Regions from separate parts of the Homo sapiens genome. Here regions 2, 3, 4 and 5 are each linked to region 1. Evidence: promoter capture Hi-C in 16 types of primary human blood cells and fetal thymus (Javierre and others, 2016). All regions are on one chromosome and are shown on one strand. Each heading gives the region's core, a stretch centred on a gene start or on the middle of the fragment in contact. The rest is flanking DNA. Distances are from core to core; before and after follow the strand shown.

Evidence for each region. Contacts are between HindIII fragments. The CHiCAGO score rates a contact against its expected background, and 5 or more counts as called.
Region 2: a fragment that was not itself captured here is called in contact with the fragment with the promoter of GSTM3 in region 1 in 1 of 17 cell types (M2 macrophages); the score reaches 5.4 in M2 macrophages.
Region 3: a fragment that was not itself captured here is called in contact with the fragment with the promoter of GSTM3 in region 1 in 1 of 17 cell types (M2 macrophages); the score reaches 5.0 in M2 macrophages.
Region 4: a fragment that was not itself captured here is called in contact with the fragment with the promoter of GSTM3 in region 1 in 4 of 17 cell types (M1 macrophages, M0 macrophages, M2 macrophages and 1 more); the score reaches 6.6 in M1 macrophages.
Region 5: a fragment that was not itself captured here is called in contact with the fragment with the promoter of GSTM3 in region 1 in 10 of 17 cell types (M2 macrophages, monocytes, neutrophils and 7 more); the score reaches 6.7 in M2 macrophages.

Annotation. Positions count from the first base shown.
Region 1 is chr1:109,739,772-109,742,333 of GRCh38, forward strand. GSTM3 (glutathione S-transferase mu 3) reads right to left here and starts at 1,267. Exons shown (of 9, transcript NM_000849.5): 1 at 1,182-1,267; 2 at 469-740; 3 at 62-137. The coding sequence starts at 516. RefSeq lists a silencer at 477-706. The HindIII fragment of the contact is 14,932 bases long and covers 1-2,452 here.
Region 2 is chr1:110,073,386-110,075,947 of GRCh38, forward strand. No RefSeq gene overlaps it. Among named protein-coding and RNA genes, the nearest start is that of ALX3, 4.0 kb to the left of the region's middle. The HindIII fragment of the contact is 4,875 bases long and covers 1-2,562 here.
Region 3 is chr1:109,454,777-109,457,338 of GRCh38, forward strand. No RefSeq gene overlaps it. Among named protein-coding and RNA genes, the nearest start is that of SYPL2, 10 kb to the right of the region's middle. RefSeq lists a silencer at 1-77. The HindIII fragment of the contact is 3,150 bases long and covers 1-2,562 here.
Region 4 is chr1:110,022,363-110,024,924 of GRCh38, forward strand. AHCYL1 (adenosylhomocysteinase like 1) reads left to right here. Exons shown (of 17, transcript NM_006621.7): 17 at 1-1,380. Among named protein-coding and RNA genes, the nearest start is that of STRIP1, 11 kb to the right of the region's middle. The HindIII fragment of the contact is 837 bases long and covers 858-1,694 here.
Region 5 is chr1:110,003,403-110,005,964 of GRCh38, forward strand. All of the region lies in intron 1 of AHCYL1 (adenosylhomocysteinase like 1), which reads left to right. Among named protein-coding and RNA genes, the nearest start is that of AHCYL1, 20 kb to the left of the region's middle. The HindIII fragment of the contact is 5,770 bases long and covers 1-2,562 here.

The DNA.
Region 1 (2,562 bases), core at 17-2,516:
TAAGAAGACCAGGGCAGGTGGAGGGCCAGCTTGGCTGCACGGGCACGCGGAGCGGCATTACCTTCCCCGCACGTGTACCGTTTCTCCTCATAAGAGGTATCCGTGAACTCCAGGAGCAGGCGGATGGCGTGCGCCAGCTGGGGAAGACAGCGGTTCAGCGACTGCGCAGCTCCCACCCATTCCCAACCCCCGCCCGCTAACGTTCCCCGGCCCGGGGCTGCCGAGTCCCTGCGTCCTGCCGGGGCGGTGGTTAAGCGGCCCCTAGGCCCGGCTCCGGCGTGGTCTCCTCCGCCCCTCCCCACAGGGCCCGCGATCCCAGAGGCTGGGCAGGGGTCGACATCCGTGGCTCGGCAGCTCGAAAAGGCTCCCGCGTAGAGCTGCTCCTGCTGGAGATCGCGGACCCAGAGACCCGCCCTCTCCGCGTCAGTCTCTTTGACCGAGCGGCTCTACCGTTGAGACGGCACTCACCCCACGAATATCCCAGTACCCGAGAACCATAGACGACTCGCACGACATGGTGACGGGCTTCCGAGCCTTCGAGGACTAGGGAAACTGTGAGCGGGAGGGGCTTTATACCCGACATAAGGGGGCGGGGCCCACGCGCGGGCGCCCTGACTCCGCCTCCGCCCCGTTCTCCGTCCCTTGCCTCCGCGGCTCCACAGGGCCGTGCGCAGGCGCGACTAATGCCGGCGTTGGGGTTCAGGGCCTGGCGACCCCGAGGCGGGACCCGGGCAGGAGTGCTGCAGGAGAGCAAAGGACCCGAGGTTGAGGCTCCTCCCTTCCCCGCGGGTGGGAGCCAGACTTCATTCATTAATGGTGCCAGTGAAGACGCGAAAAGCACCACTAGCCAGGCAGTGGGGACCCTAGTTACCCAGGGAGAGCGAGATTCGCGCCGTTTTTACCGAGCCAGCCGGGGCTGGATGAAGGATAGGAAGACTGGGGCAAGGCCGGAGAGTCAGACCAGCCTCTGACCACACAGAGCAGAAGATTCCCCACAGACCAAGCTCCCCTCTCTGTCAGTCAAGGACCTCTGCAACCTGACCCCAACGTGCTTTTCCAGTCCTGTCTCTCCCTCAGCCCGTCACAACTTCATAAGCCAGCCCAACCCAACAATACTTGCTGTTCCTTCTACACACACTTGCATTTCCCACCTTGGAGTGTTTGCTCTGTGATCCTCCTACCTGCATCCTAATTTCCACAGCCTATCCTTCCTCAGCAGCCTTGCTGAAATGTCTGCCTATTCCTTGAAGCCTTCTCAGAACCAACCTCTATCCTGGCCAGAAGAGGTCTCTTATCTTGAATGTTTCCTACCTTTGTTTTATGGGCTTAAGTAATTTATGGATTCCTTATTATAATTTCCTCCTCCAATCCCTCCCACTTCCTAATGCTCACGCATTTAGGGAAATTAATCTTGCCTCTTTGTGTAGGATGGACTGGAGGAGGAAAGGTACTACCATTTTTCATTCACTCATTCATCTGTCCAACAATGTTTAACATGCCTGTTATGGACAGGCACTGTTTTAGGTGCTGGGGATACAGAACTGAACTCAACAGACAAAATCCCTGCCCTCAGGAAGTTTACATTCTAATGGGGAAGAAATAAACTAATATATAGTAAATAGCTAGTAAGTCAGGTGGTGATACACATCCTATGGAGAGAAATAAAATCGAGAAGAGAGATAGGGGGTCTCAGGGTGGGAACTGGGGGAGTCCCAGTAGGAAGGGGATTTATGTTTTTAAAGGTTATGTTCATAGAAGGCCTCATGGAGAAGTTAATCTTTAAACAAAGACCTGAAGGAGGTGAGAGATCAAGCCACTCTGCTGTGGGGGCCACCATGGGCTGATATAAATATAAAACAGAATAATTGCTGTTCCTTTTACAAGCATGTTTGCTCTGCTCCTGCCTGCACCCTAATGTCCATGGCCTAGCCTTCCTCAAGTAGCCGTGCTCAAATGCTCACTTCTTCCTTGAAGCCTTCTCAGAATCACCCTCTATCCTGGCCAGAAGAGTTCTCTCCCTCTCTTATCTCGAATCACTTCCTACCTGCAGGAGGCAGAGAGAACTCCAGGAAAAGGGAAACAGCAAGTACAGGAGTGATCACTCTGTGTTTGAAACCAGAGACTAGATGAGATCACCATGGGAGCACGAGTAGCAGAGATGAGGTCTAAGGGTTTGAGGTGCTCTGGCATATCAACATGTAAAGGTTAGGGAAAAATGAGAGCAAACCAGCAAAGGAGTCTGAAAAGGAGTGGCCAGGGAGGTAGGAGGAAAACAAAAGGTCCCAGAAGCCATGTGAAGATGTTTAAAGGGAGAAGTGATCAACTATGTCAAGTGTGGCTGATCAAGTAAGATGAAGATGGAGAATCAATGGTTGAATTTAGGAAAGTAGGGGTTTTGACCTTGACAGAGCAAGAGACCTGCCCGAGGCCCCTATAGTCATGGGAAGAACTAAGCTTCTGAATTTCGGCAGGGCCCATGCAAATGAAAAGGGGCACAGATTTGCAACAGGGTCAACTCGGGAGACATAGGATTCTAGTTGAATGTGGAGGAGTGACAGAGGA
Region 2 (2,562 bases), core at 36-2,535, 330 kb after region 1:
AGCTGGGATTACAGGCATGTGCCACCATGCCTGTCTAAGATTGGTTTATTTAATCTTCACAGCTCTGTGAAATAGGTACCCTGTTTTCTAGAGAAGGAGCCTGAGGCCAGGAGGGAGCCATTTGTTCAGGTAGACACAGCCAGTTAGTGCCAGAACCAGAATTTACACTCAGATCCGCGGTCCCCCACTCCACACGACTCCTCAGTCCTTCTTCAGTTAACGAAGCTGAAATCATTCACTGTGCACCCTCATTTTCCCAGTGGGAAGGCTGGGACTCCTTCCAGAAAGGAAGGCTGAGGCCAGAGTGGCCTGGGGACATTGCACTGCTGCCTTCATGATCAGCAAATGGCATCTGTTGAGACTCGTATGCCTAGCTGCGGCCACTGATACAGTAGGTAGAGGGTGGTTTCTGCTAAGCTGAGACCAAATGAAACAGAGTGCTTAACACTTGAGAGGTTTATGACCAATGCAGCCAGATGTGGGGCAGAATTTTAAGGGAATTTGTGAATTCACCATTTGTGCTGTTTAATAACCAACTGAATTATAACAGCATTTGTCACTGAAAAATTGTCCATGGAGTAAGAGATGAGTGGATGGCGAGATCCAGATAATTCCAGGCCCTGTAATGAAAAAACTGAACAAAACCCCTCTCCATCTGCTAAGAAGAGCTACGTTTTAAATGGAAATGATACTTACTAGCTGTTTTACACCAGCTGAATGTTTAATTCATTCATTTAACAGGAGAGCCTACCATGTGATCCCCATTTGCTGGTACCAGGATATAGTGGCACACACGACATGTGATCCCTGCCTTCACAGTGCTTACACTTTGCTGGAATGGAAGTGTCTCATCCACGTTGAAGAAAATCATCCTCATTTGGCTGTGAATTAGAATAGAATCTGGTCTTGTGAGAAGAGTTCCTGGCTCTGGGCCTCAACTGTAAGGTCAGTTCTTCATTTAGGGAAACATCAGCCCCAGCACCACTTTCCGTTTCATTCTCTGCTTCCCTCAGCCTGCACCACAGGAAGGACATGTGCTTCTTTTTCCCCCAGTGGATTTCCAGAAGGGATAGGGACGATGAGAAAGAGGTAACCTCAGATCTGAGATTTGCTTGACATACACAAAATTTCCTTCCAACAGGGAAAACTCAGTTGCTTTTTTTCCTTCAAAGGAAAGACAGTTGGTATTACCTTTGTCCTGTTTAGATACTGAAATCCTAAATTGATTCATATAAAAATTCTGGGTTTGGGAACCCAAAAGATTGTTTCTCATTAGTGACATTCTTCCTGGAAGGGCAGGCTGAGGAATGGTAAATAAACCTGTGGATCTGGTGCTTCCTCCTCACTCATGATCTCAGACAGAGAGAGAAAAAGACAGAGAGAGAGAGAGAGAGAAGAAGCAAAATGATAGGAAAAGAAAAGAAAAAATCTTTGTGTTGTGGACACCCAGAATCCTTGGCTGTGATTCTAACAACCCAGGCTGAAGTCTGCTTTGGAATAAGATTTGTGGGATGTTTTTTCTCTTTCATTGATTTGATCTGTTTCATTGGGAAAGACACTTAACCTCTCTGTGCCACAGGTTCTTATGTGAAAATGGGAAGAAATGAGTCTGTACTCCAGCTTTATGGGAATGAATGTGATAGTAATTATACACATGTTTCTTGAGCCTGAATCCACCACTGAACCTATGGTTTTCTGCTCATTCTCTCTGCCCAGCTTACTGAGGTTGGGTTGTAATGGAGGGAGGGGGCCAGAGAGGCGGAGATGTATCTCTTCTCTGGTAGGCCTCAGTTTGACCTATTGCCTTTGTGTGAAGGTGAATAGGTTCTTCTGTGGCAAGTGCTGGCATGGACCATAGAGAAGTCATTTTGTAGAGGAGTTTTTTTTTTTTTTTTTGAGACGGAGTCTCTGTCGCCCAGGCTGGAGTGCAGTGGCGTGACCTTGGGTCACTGTAACCTCTGCCTCGTGGGTTTAAGCAATTCTTCTGCCTCAGCCTCCCGAGTAGCTGGGATTACAGGCATGCACTACCACACCCTGCTAATTTTTTATTTTTAGTAAAGACAGGGTTTCACCATGTTGGCCAGGCTGGTCACAAACTCCTGACTTCAGGTGATCCACCTGCCTCAGCCTTGCAAAGTGCTGGGATTACAGGTATGAGCCACCACGCCGAGTCTTGTATAGGAGTTTTTGATGAACTAATTCTTGATATAAAACAGACCCTTCTGTTTTAGGTTAGACTTTTTGGCCATTTTAACAGTTTGATTAATTTTATGCATTCCTTTATTCACCAAGCATTTATTGACTGCCTGCCATGTGCCAGATAGTGGAGTCACACAGTAAGAATAGATCCTGAGAGAGTACCACTTACTCCCAGGGCTTTTCCAGACTAGCAGAAGAAAGACACAGAGCAACAGGCATTTACGCCATGGAGTGTGACTCTGCTGAGGCTGGGAGAGCACAGGGGGCCTGGGAGCTAGGAGAAGGGCAGCTGTCCCAGCTTTGGGCTGGGGGCAGCTGGTCATGGAATGCTTTAAGTTTGAATCTGAAAATCTGGAAAGTTGA
Region 3 (2,562 bases), core at 32-2,531, 280 kb before region 1:
AGGATCAGCAATGTCTTAAGCAAAAAGTTATAAAAAGATTACTTCAGTTTTCTGTTAGTTCAGTCAATTCAGTGAACCCTTATTCTGCTTGATATTCATGAACATTTTGGCTCTTCATGAGTCCTGTATGTTTTCCTCTATTCCAATGTTGCAATCTCCAAAGTTATCAGAAACCTGTATTTCAGACCACCTGTCAAAGTCCTATAGCTGATTATAAACCATCTTTTGAAAAGAATCAAAGCAAGACAACAATTGTCTGTGAATGACAAAATGTCCTCAGGGTAGTTAGGATCAAAAACACAATTGACAAAGAAATTTGGTTATTTCTGTGGTTGACAATAACTTAACATAGTAACCTTAATTATGATTGCTAGCACATACTCAGACATTAGAATTTTAGAAATCCCTTGCAATTCTGGAACATATGTTAACATTATTCACTAAAATATAACCTGAAGAGAATTAAACATTATTTTGGCAATGCTACATAAATAAACATGTCAAATAACCCTGTTTACCTAACTCTTTTGGATGCCCCAGGGGCCCTCTGTGGCACCCAAAAGTTAGGGTTGGAAAAGACAACCTTGAAACTGAAGTTTGATCTGGGGAAGGCTGTCAAATATGTTAAAGGTTTAAAACACCTGATATTATGAAATAGAATTCCGGATTACCATAAGTCATTTATTTAGCCAAAATGATGACTCAAAAAGTTTAAACAAGGCAAAAACCTTTACTCATTAAGAGGGAAGATTTAGTTTTCCAAACAATCTGTCCTTAATACTACATAAAAATCCTGTTCAAAGGAGAGAAAGCTAAATTTCACCTTTGCATTAGTCTATTATTAATGTCAACCCCAATTTTTTTAATGAAACCTTATAGATAATTCTATCCAATCTTAACCAGTTTGACCATGAGGTGAGATTCTTATAAGACTTTCATAACTCTTTATAAATTTTGTTAAAGAGTAGATCAATGCCTTAAGAAAATCTTGTGCTTTTATTCCAATGCTCAATTTGTGGAAAAACCCTATAATACCTTTTTGAAGTTAGTCAATATGTTCACACACACGATTTCTTTTGAAAGATTAATTTTTACAAACTTTCCACCACTTGTTTAAGCCTTTAGCTTTATCTTATCTAGTTTTTTAATCTTATCTAATTTAAAACAATCCTTTACCTCTCTAAACTAGGCAAAAATTTACATTCCCATGCCTTCTTATAATCTTTTACCAAAAACACATTTTATCTTCCTTACACACCTTGCATGTAAATCTATTTTCAGTAGTCTCAATTACATGTTGTAATGGCAACTCTTAGCAATTGATATAGAAAAAGCATTTGATGAAATTCAACATCCATCCATGGATAAAAAAAAACTCTCAGCGAACAAGTAACACAGAGAAACTTCTTCAACCTGATAAAGGACTTCGACAGAAAATCTAGAGCTAACATTGTACTAAATGGTGAAAGGCTGAATACCTTTCCCCTCAGATGAGAAACAAGGCAAGTATGCCAACTCTCACCACTCCTATTCAACATTGTACTGGAAAGTTCTAGCCAAGGCAATAAGGCAAGGAAAATAAATAAAAGGCATACAGTTTGTAAAGAAAGAAATAAAACTGTTTCTATTTGCAGATGACATAGTAGTGTACATAGAAAATCCCAAGGAATCACACACACACACAAACCTCGTAGAACTAAAATAGGAATGTATAAAGGTCACAGGATAAAGGATTTTTTTTTTGAGACAGAGTTTCACTCTTGTTGCCCAGGCTGGAGTGCAATGGTGCAATCTCAGCTAACTGCAACTTCTGCCTCCTGGGTTCAAGTGATTCTCCTGTCTCAACCTCCTGAATAGCTGTGATTATAGGTGCCTGTCACTACACCCGGCTAATTTTTGGTATTTTTAGTAGAGACATTGTTTCACCATGTTGGCCAGGCTGGTCTCGAACTCCTGATTTCAGGTGATCCACCCGCCTCGGCCTCCCAAAGTGCTGGGATTACAGGCATAAGCCATCATGCCTGGCCTAGGATAAACGATTAAAAGAAAAAAAGTCATTTTTCTATATACTAGCAATTGTCAACTGAAAACTTCAATTTAAAACAATATCATGGCTGGGCATGGTGGCCCACACCTGTAATCCCAGCACTTTGGGAAGCCAGAGTGGGTGGATCACTTGAGGTCAGGAGTTCAAGACCAGCCTGGCCAACATGGTGAAACCCTGTCTCTACTAAACATATAAAAATTAGCTGAGCATGGTGGTGGGCACCTGTAATCCCAGCTACTTGGGAGGCTGAGGCAGGAGAATAGCTTGAATCCAGGAAGTGGAGGTTTCAGTGAGCCAAGATCGCACCCCTGCACTCCAGCCTGGGCAATAGAGCAAGACTCCATATCAAAAAACAAACAAATGAACAAAAAATCATTTATAATGGCTCCCCCAAAATTAAATGTGAGGGGACTCGAAAAAGTGAAATCAAAATATAAAAATTAAAAATATAAACTTTATTTATCAACACAAGCTCCATCAAGTTCAAGATACTTTTGTAAATGATAATATTAATA
Region 4 (2,562 bases), core at 26-2,525, 280 kb after region 1:
TTTCTGTTGTCCAAAAAAAAAAAAAAAGAAAAGAAAAATTAAGGAGAATTTTTGGTGTTAATGCTGAGGAATTGCTTGAGTGGTTAGTTGTTACCAATTTCTCTTTTGAACCTTTGGAGCTAAGGATGCTGAGTCTAGAGAAATGCTAGTCTCAAGCCCTGTTAAGTCCCTCTGTTTCTAGCCCGTAGTTCATAGCATCAGTGAACTGGAGCCACAACAGCAAATTCTATCAGCTGTGTACCATACAGCTTGTGCTGAAGGCGAATTTCTTGAGCCATTACTCAGTATAAAGCACTGAGTTCTATCTTTAGGATTTATCTTTAAGAGCAAATTTCTGGTCAGCTGTGCTTCTGCAACCTAAAATATTTAAAGGGAGGTAGGTGTGGGCAGGAGGAGGAATGATAAATTGGGCCAGGGCAAGAAAAATCTAGCTTCATATAATTTGTCTGGGACTATACACCCTATATAATGTTAGTTTTACAGAAGTAATATGACTTTTGATTGCTACATACCACAAAGAGTTTATGAACTGAGATCATAAAGGGCAACTGATGTGTGAAGAAAGTAGTCAGTACATCCTGGCTCATGCTCTGAAAGAATATCCAGAGAGGCTCTCTCAAAGATCAGGGAGATGTATTCCCATGCCATGCACCCTGCTTCCCAGCATTTCTGCATGGTCAAGTGAGCTTTATGCTCATGAGCTTTAAGTATATAATTATCCAGGATTTTAAATCCTCAACTTGTTCTAGCTTGTGATCCCTCAAAGTTGGGTCATACGTTAGTGCTAGATACTAGAAATTTTCACTTTTCCACTGATCAGAGAGACAGACATTAAAAACAAAAATAGAAGAAAGGAAAGCTTTCACCCTGCAGCTTCTTAGCAGGGAACAATTGTCTTGCCAAAACTTTTTTCCCTTTTCTCTCCCATTTTCTTTTACCCAATCCCTTCTTACTCCTTGCCAGTGTGACCATGCTTTCTTCTCTGTAGATGTTAACAGTTAAGGCCTATTTTCCTCGGGCACTTAACCAACCAATCAGAACACCACATCTGTTAGGGGAGGTAACCTGGCCAACAGTGTATCCATCACGTTAGCCCTGCTGGAGGGAAGGGACCCACATTCACCTGCCCTCTGACCTGCCCCTTGATCCCATATCTATTACCGTGTCCATAGGAATAATAGGTAAGGGCTCTGTCTCTGTCAAGCCATGTAACAAAGGACACTGTTAAAAAAAAAAAAAAGTCTGGCATCAGAGGGAGCATGTGGAGAGCAACTTGGGAAGAACAAGTTCATTTTGTATTGAATGATTTTTAATGAATGCAATATTAATCCTTGCAGATGAGCAATAATCATTAAAATCGATTAAAATGATAAGACCTTATTGGCAGTCCGTATGTGTCATTCTTTGTTAAACAGCAAAACTTCATTAGAACCTGTTTTCTAGGGTGTGACAAGTTATAGGTCAGTAGCATTTAATAGAGATTTGTTGAGGGCCTAATATATAGAGGCTGGATACAGGATTCTTCAAAGTAATACCTGAAGTTTTGTATGCCTGCTCTGTGCCAAGCACCGGGCCTGGGTACTTTCACTCCTAACTTCCTTCAGGAAGCAGACTTGCTGCTTAAGCCTCAGGGTTCCTCATTTGCATAGTCCTTCTAAGACCTAATTTCTGAAGAATGCCCCCAAAGTTATGTAAGCTTCAGCCTCCTCCCACACCTGTATCCATTTCTGAAGTGGTCTCAGTGTCTTTTTTTTTTTTTTTTCTCTTTATTTTTTTGAGACAAGGTCTCACTGTCACCCAGGTTGGAGTGCAGTGGCTTGATCTCAGCTCACTGCAACTTCTGCCTTCCGGGCTCAAGTGATCCTCCCACCTCAACCTCCCAAGTAGCTGGGACCACAGTGTCAGCTAATTGTTTGTATTTTTGGTAGAGATGGGGTTTCGCCATGAAATCTAGGCTGATCTCAAACTCCTGGGCTCAAGTGATCCTCCTGCCTCTGCCTCCCAAAGTGCTGGGATTACTGGCCAGTGTCTTCTGATGTAAGAAAGTATTTATCTTGGTCAGTTTCTGCTGCTCCAGCAAAATCCTGAGACTGAGTAATTTATAAAGAACAGAAATTGATATTCTCACAGTTGGAGGCTGGGAAGTCCAAGGTCAAGTCGTTGGCAGATTTGGTGTCTGAAGAGGGCTGCTGCCTGCTTCCAAGATGGTACCTCTTATGCATCCTCATATAGCAGAAGGTAGAAGGGCAAAAAGGACCTAACTATTACCTCATATATGCCAAAGTCTGTTTTAGATACTGGGGATACATCAGTTTAAATCAGATGATCTCTTCCTTTGTGGTGTTTACGTAAAATTCCAACAAGATCCAAATTCCTTCCCTTTTTCCTTTACCCACAATTTGGCCATTAGGTAAGACAGAGCAAGCTAGGGATTCATGTGGATTTGCAGCCTGTGAGTGTGGGTGGTATCCTTGTGGGAACTGGGGATGTAGCTTGGTACAAGGAGTCAGATCCCAAGTGGCGTGGGGAATGCATCTATGCAGGGGATGAATGGCAATGGCA
Region 5 (2,562 bases), core at 43-2,542, 260 kb after region 1:
TACAGGTGTTTATTATACTATGCTTTTGAATTTTTTTATGTGCTGAAAATGATTATAATAAAGTTGGAAAAGTAAAGTACAACAATGGTGCTAGCGAGTGGGGATGGAGGGTAGGGGGTGGGAGAGGAGACTTTAATGTTGTCACTAAAGTAGTGGGTATGTTCCAGGAACCAGGATTTCTTCAGTCACCTGTACTGATTTTTTTTTTTAAACCTAGAATTGATGATAAATCAATATCGGGAGAAACAGAGATGACTGGCATGTGTTTATATAATATTGGTGGTGGGACTGAGAAAAGAAGTATGGACAGGTCAGGCAACTAGGTAGGTAGTAGATAGCTAAATAGGCATTGAAACAGTCTGGGTGTGTGTTACATTCTGTTGCAAATTGTGGTGTTCAAAAGATTGGGAAGCCCTTTTCTGTCCTACTTACTGCCTTTTTTCTAACTTCTTATGTTTACTTCTAGTTGGCAGTTGCAGGCCTCGATTACTCATTGACTGGAGCACTTTAGGAGATAATAGTGAAGTGAAGTCAGTGAAGTGTTTAGTCTTACAGGAAGAGAGGGGAGTAGCTCACAAGGGTCAAACTACTCTTTGGCAGAGTTTTTCAAGCTGTGTGTTCCTTACCTTTTAAGTGACTCAGCAGTTTGGGGCCTGGTATTGCCTCACCTCTTCTCGCCGCGAGCATTGACAGAAGATCTAGTTGAGTCCTACTTTGAAAGGAGTATTGCTTCTGACTGTGGAATTGGATTCTAGCTGTGTGTGTGTTATATCCTGTTACTGTTGAGACACAGAGGCGGGAGTCGGCGGGGGAAGATATGTGCTGAGATTAGTCAGCCTGCCCTCCCTCTCCCCCAAGAAACTCAGGCCCCATCTGGGGAGAGTGAGAACTTAAGAAACTTGAGACAGGGAAGGAGAGCCGGGAGCAGCCAAAACCTGCTAAGTCTCAGAAGACTGGTTTCTGCACAAGGGAATGGAAGAAGTGACTGGAGGTGGCTGTGGATTCAACTCTGGCCTGAGATTGATTCCCTTGAGATAAGTTGTTTTCTGGTGGGTGTGTCTGGGAGCATTGTGTTGGGAAGGGAATTCCTTTCTTTGGGAAACACTTTTTTTTTTACTTGAAGTGAAAGGTATTCAGACTTGTGTATTTCTTGTACCAAGGAGTGGGTGTTTATTGATAACTGTTTCTTTGGGTTCATCTGAAGTGGGAATCAGACTGGTAAATATCAAGAAAAACTGGGCATGGTGGTGTGGGCCTATAGTCCTAGCTACTCAGGAGGTGGGAAGATTGTTTGAGCCCAGCAGTTTGCAGCCAGCCTGGCAAACATAGTGAGACCCTGTCTCTTTAAAAAGAGAGAGAACGTAAGGAAGTAAAGGTGTTACACCTGTTTTGGCTGTCTGCCATATTCTCTTCCTTTCCTCTGAAAAAGGAGTGGGTGAGGGTAGAATCTGTAGAAGAAAAAATAAATTAACCAGAAAATATGTGTGAAAAAGGGATTAGAAAAGATGTAGGAATCTTGAAAAGTGTTCTGACACACTATGCTTAGTAATGATGATCTTGTTAAAATATCTAGTTTTTTATTGTTACTTTTTTTTTGCTCAGTTGCTAAGAAATATGCTGACCATAATTTCTAAACAGAAAAATCTCTGCACACAATATGCTAGGACAGACAATGGGACAGAATATATAAATTTAGGAATGTCCCAGAGAATCAGTAGTGTACCAAAAGAGGGATCCTAGCCCTTCAAATAATTCTCTGCAGTAAGAAAGACTGCTCTGCTCACTTCTACATTACACTTTCTTAATGATTTGTTTTCCTAGTAATTGTTGTTTATCTTTGAATCTAGTTCTTGACACTTAGGAAGAAACCTTTTTGAGGAAATTAAAAGCTGTTAGATTGGTATTTGAAATAACGAATTTGACAAGATGTCTAAGTTAAACCTAAGTTAAACAATATCCAGATAAGGCTGTGAAGACTATAATATCTGGCATGTTCCTCATGGAGCAGTGAAATTCCATGCCAAAGCCACTTACATTACTATACTGTGGGTCAAAACATGTCTACAGATTTTAAGGGACCGTGTTTCCTTGCATAGAACTTTCCTGGAGTAGCACTGGATACTTAGTTGGTGCCTAGCAAATGTGATGACTAAAGAATATAATGCATCACAGATATTATCCTGATCACCATTTCTTGGCTAAAATGTTGTAGTGGAATTCTGGTGGCTGTTAATTCTTTCTCATTCAGGAGATAGCAGGCAAAATTGGGTGGGCCCTGGGAAGGAGTGTAGCTGGGCTATTTAACATCTGAGAATATAGGATGTGTGTTTATGAAAGTAAACTCAGCTTCTAATGGTAAAAAAAAAAAAAATCAATTAGGATCAACTAAAGGAATAGCATACAATTTTTCTTCTCTTGAGGTATGTAACTTTTTTGGATTGTCTCTGATCCCCTTCTCTTGGTAAGGTCTGCACAATTCTTTCAGCTCACTTTGTCAGCAGACTTCCCACTAGGTAGTGCATATACCCCAAATTATTCGTTTGGTAGAGCTTTTCTTTACCA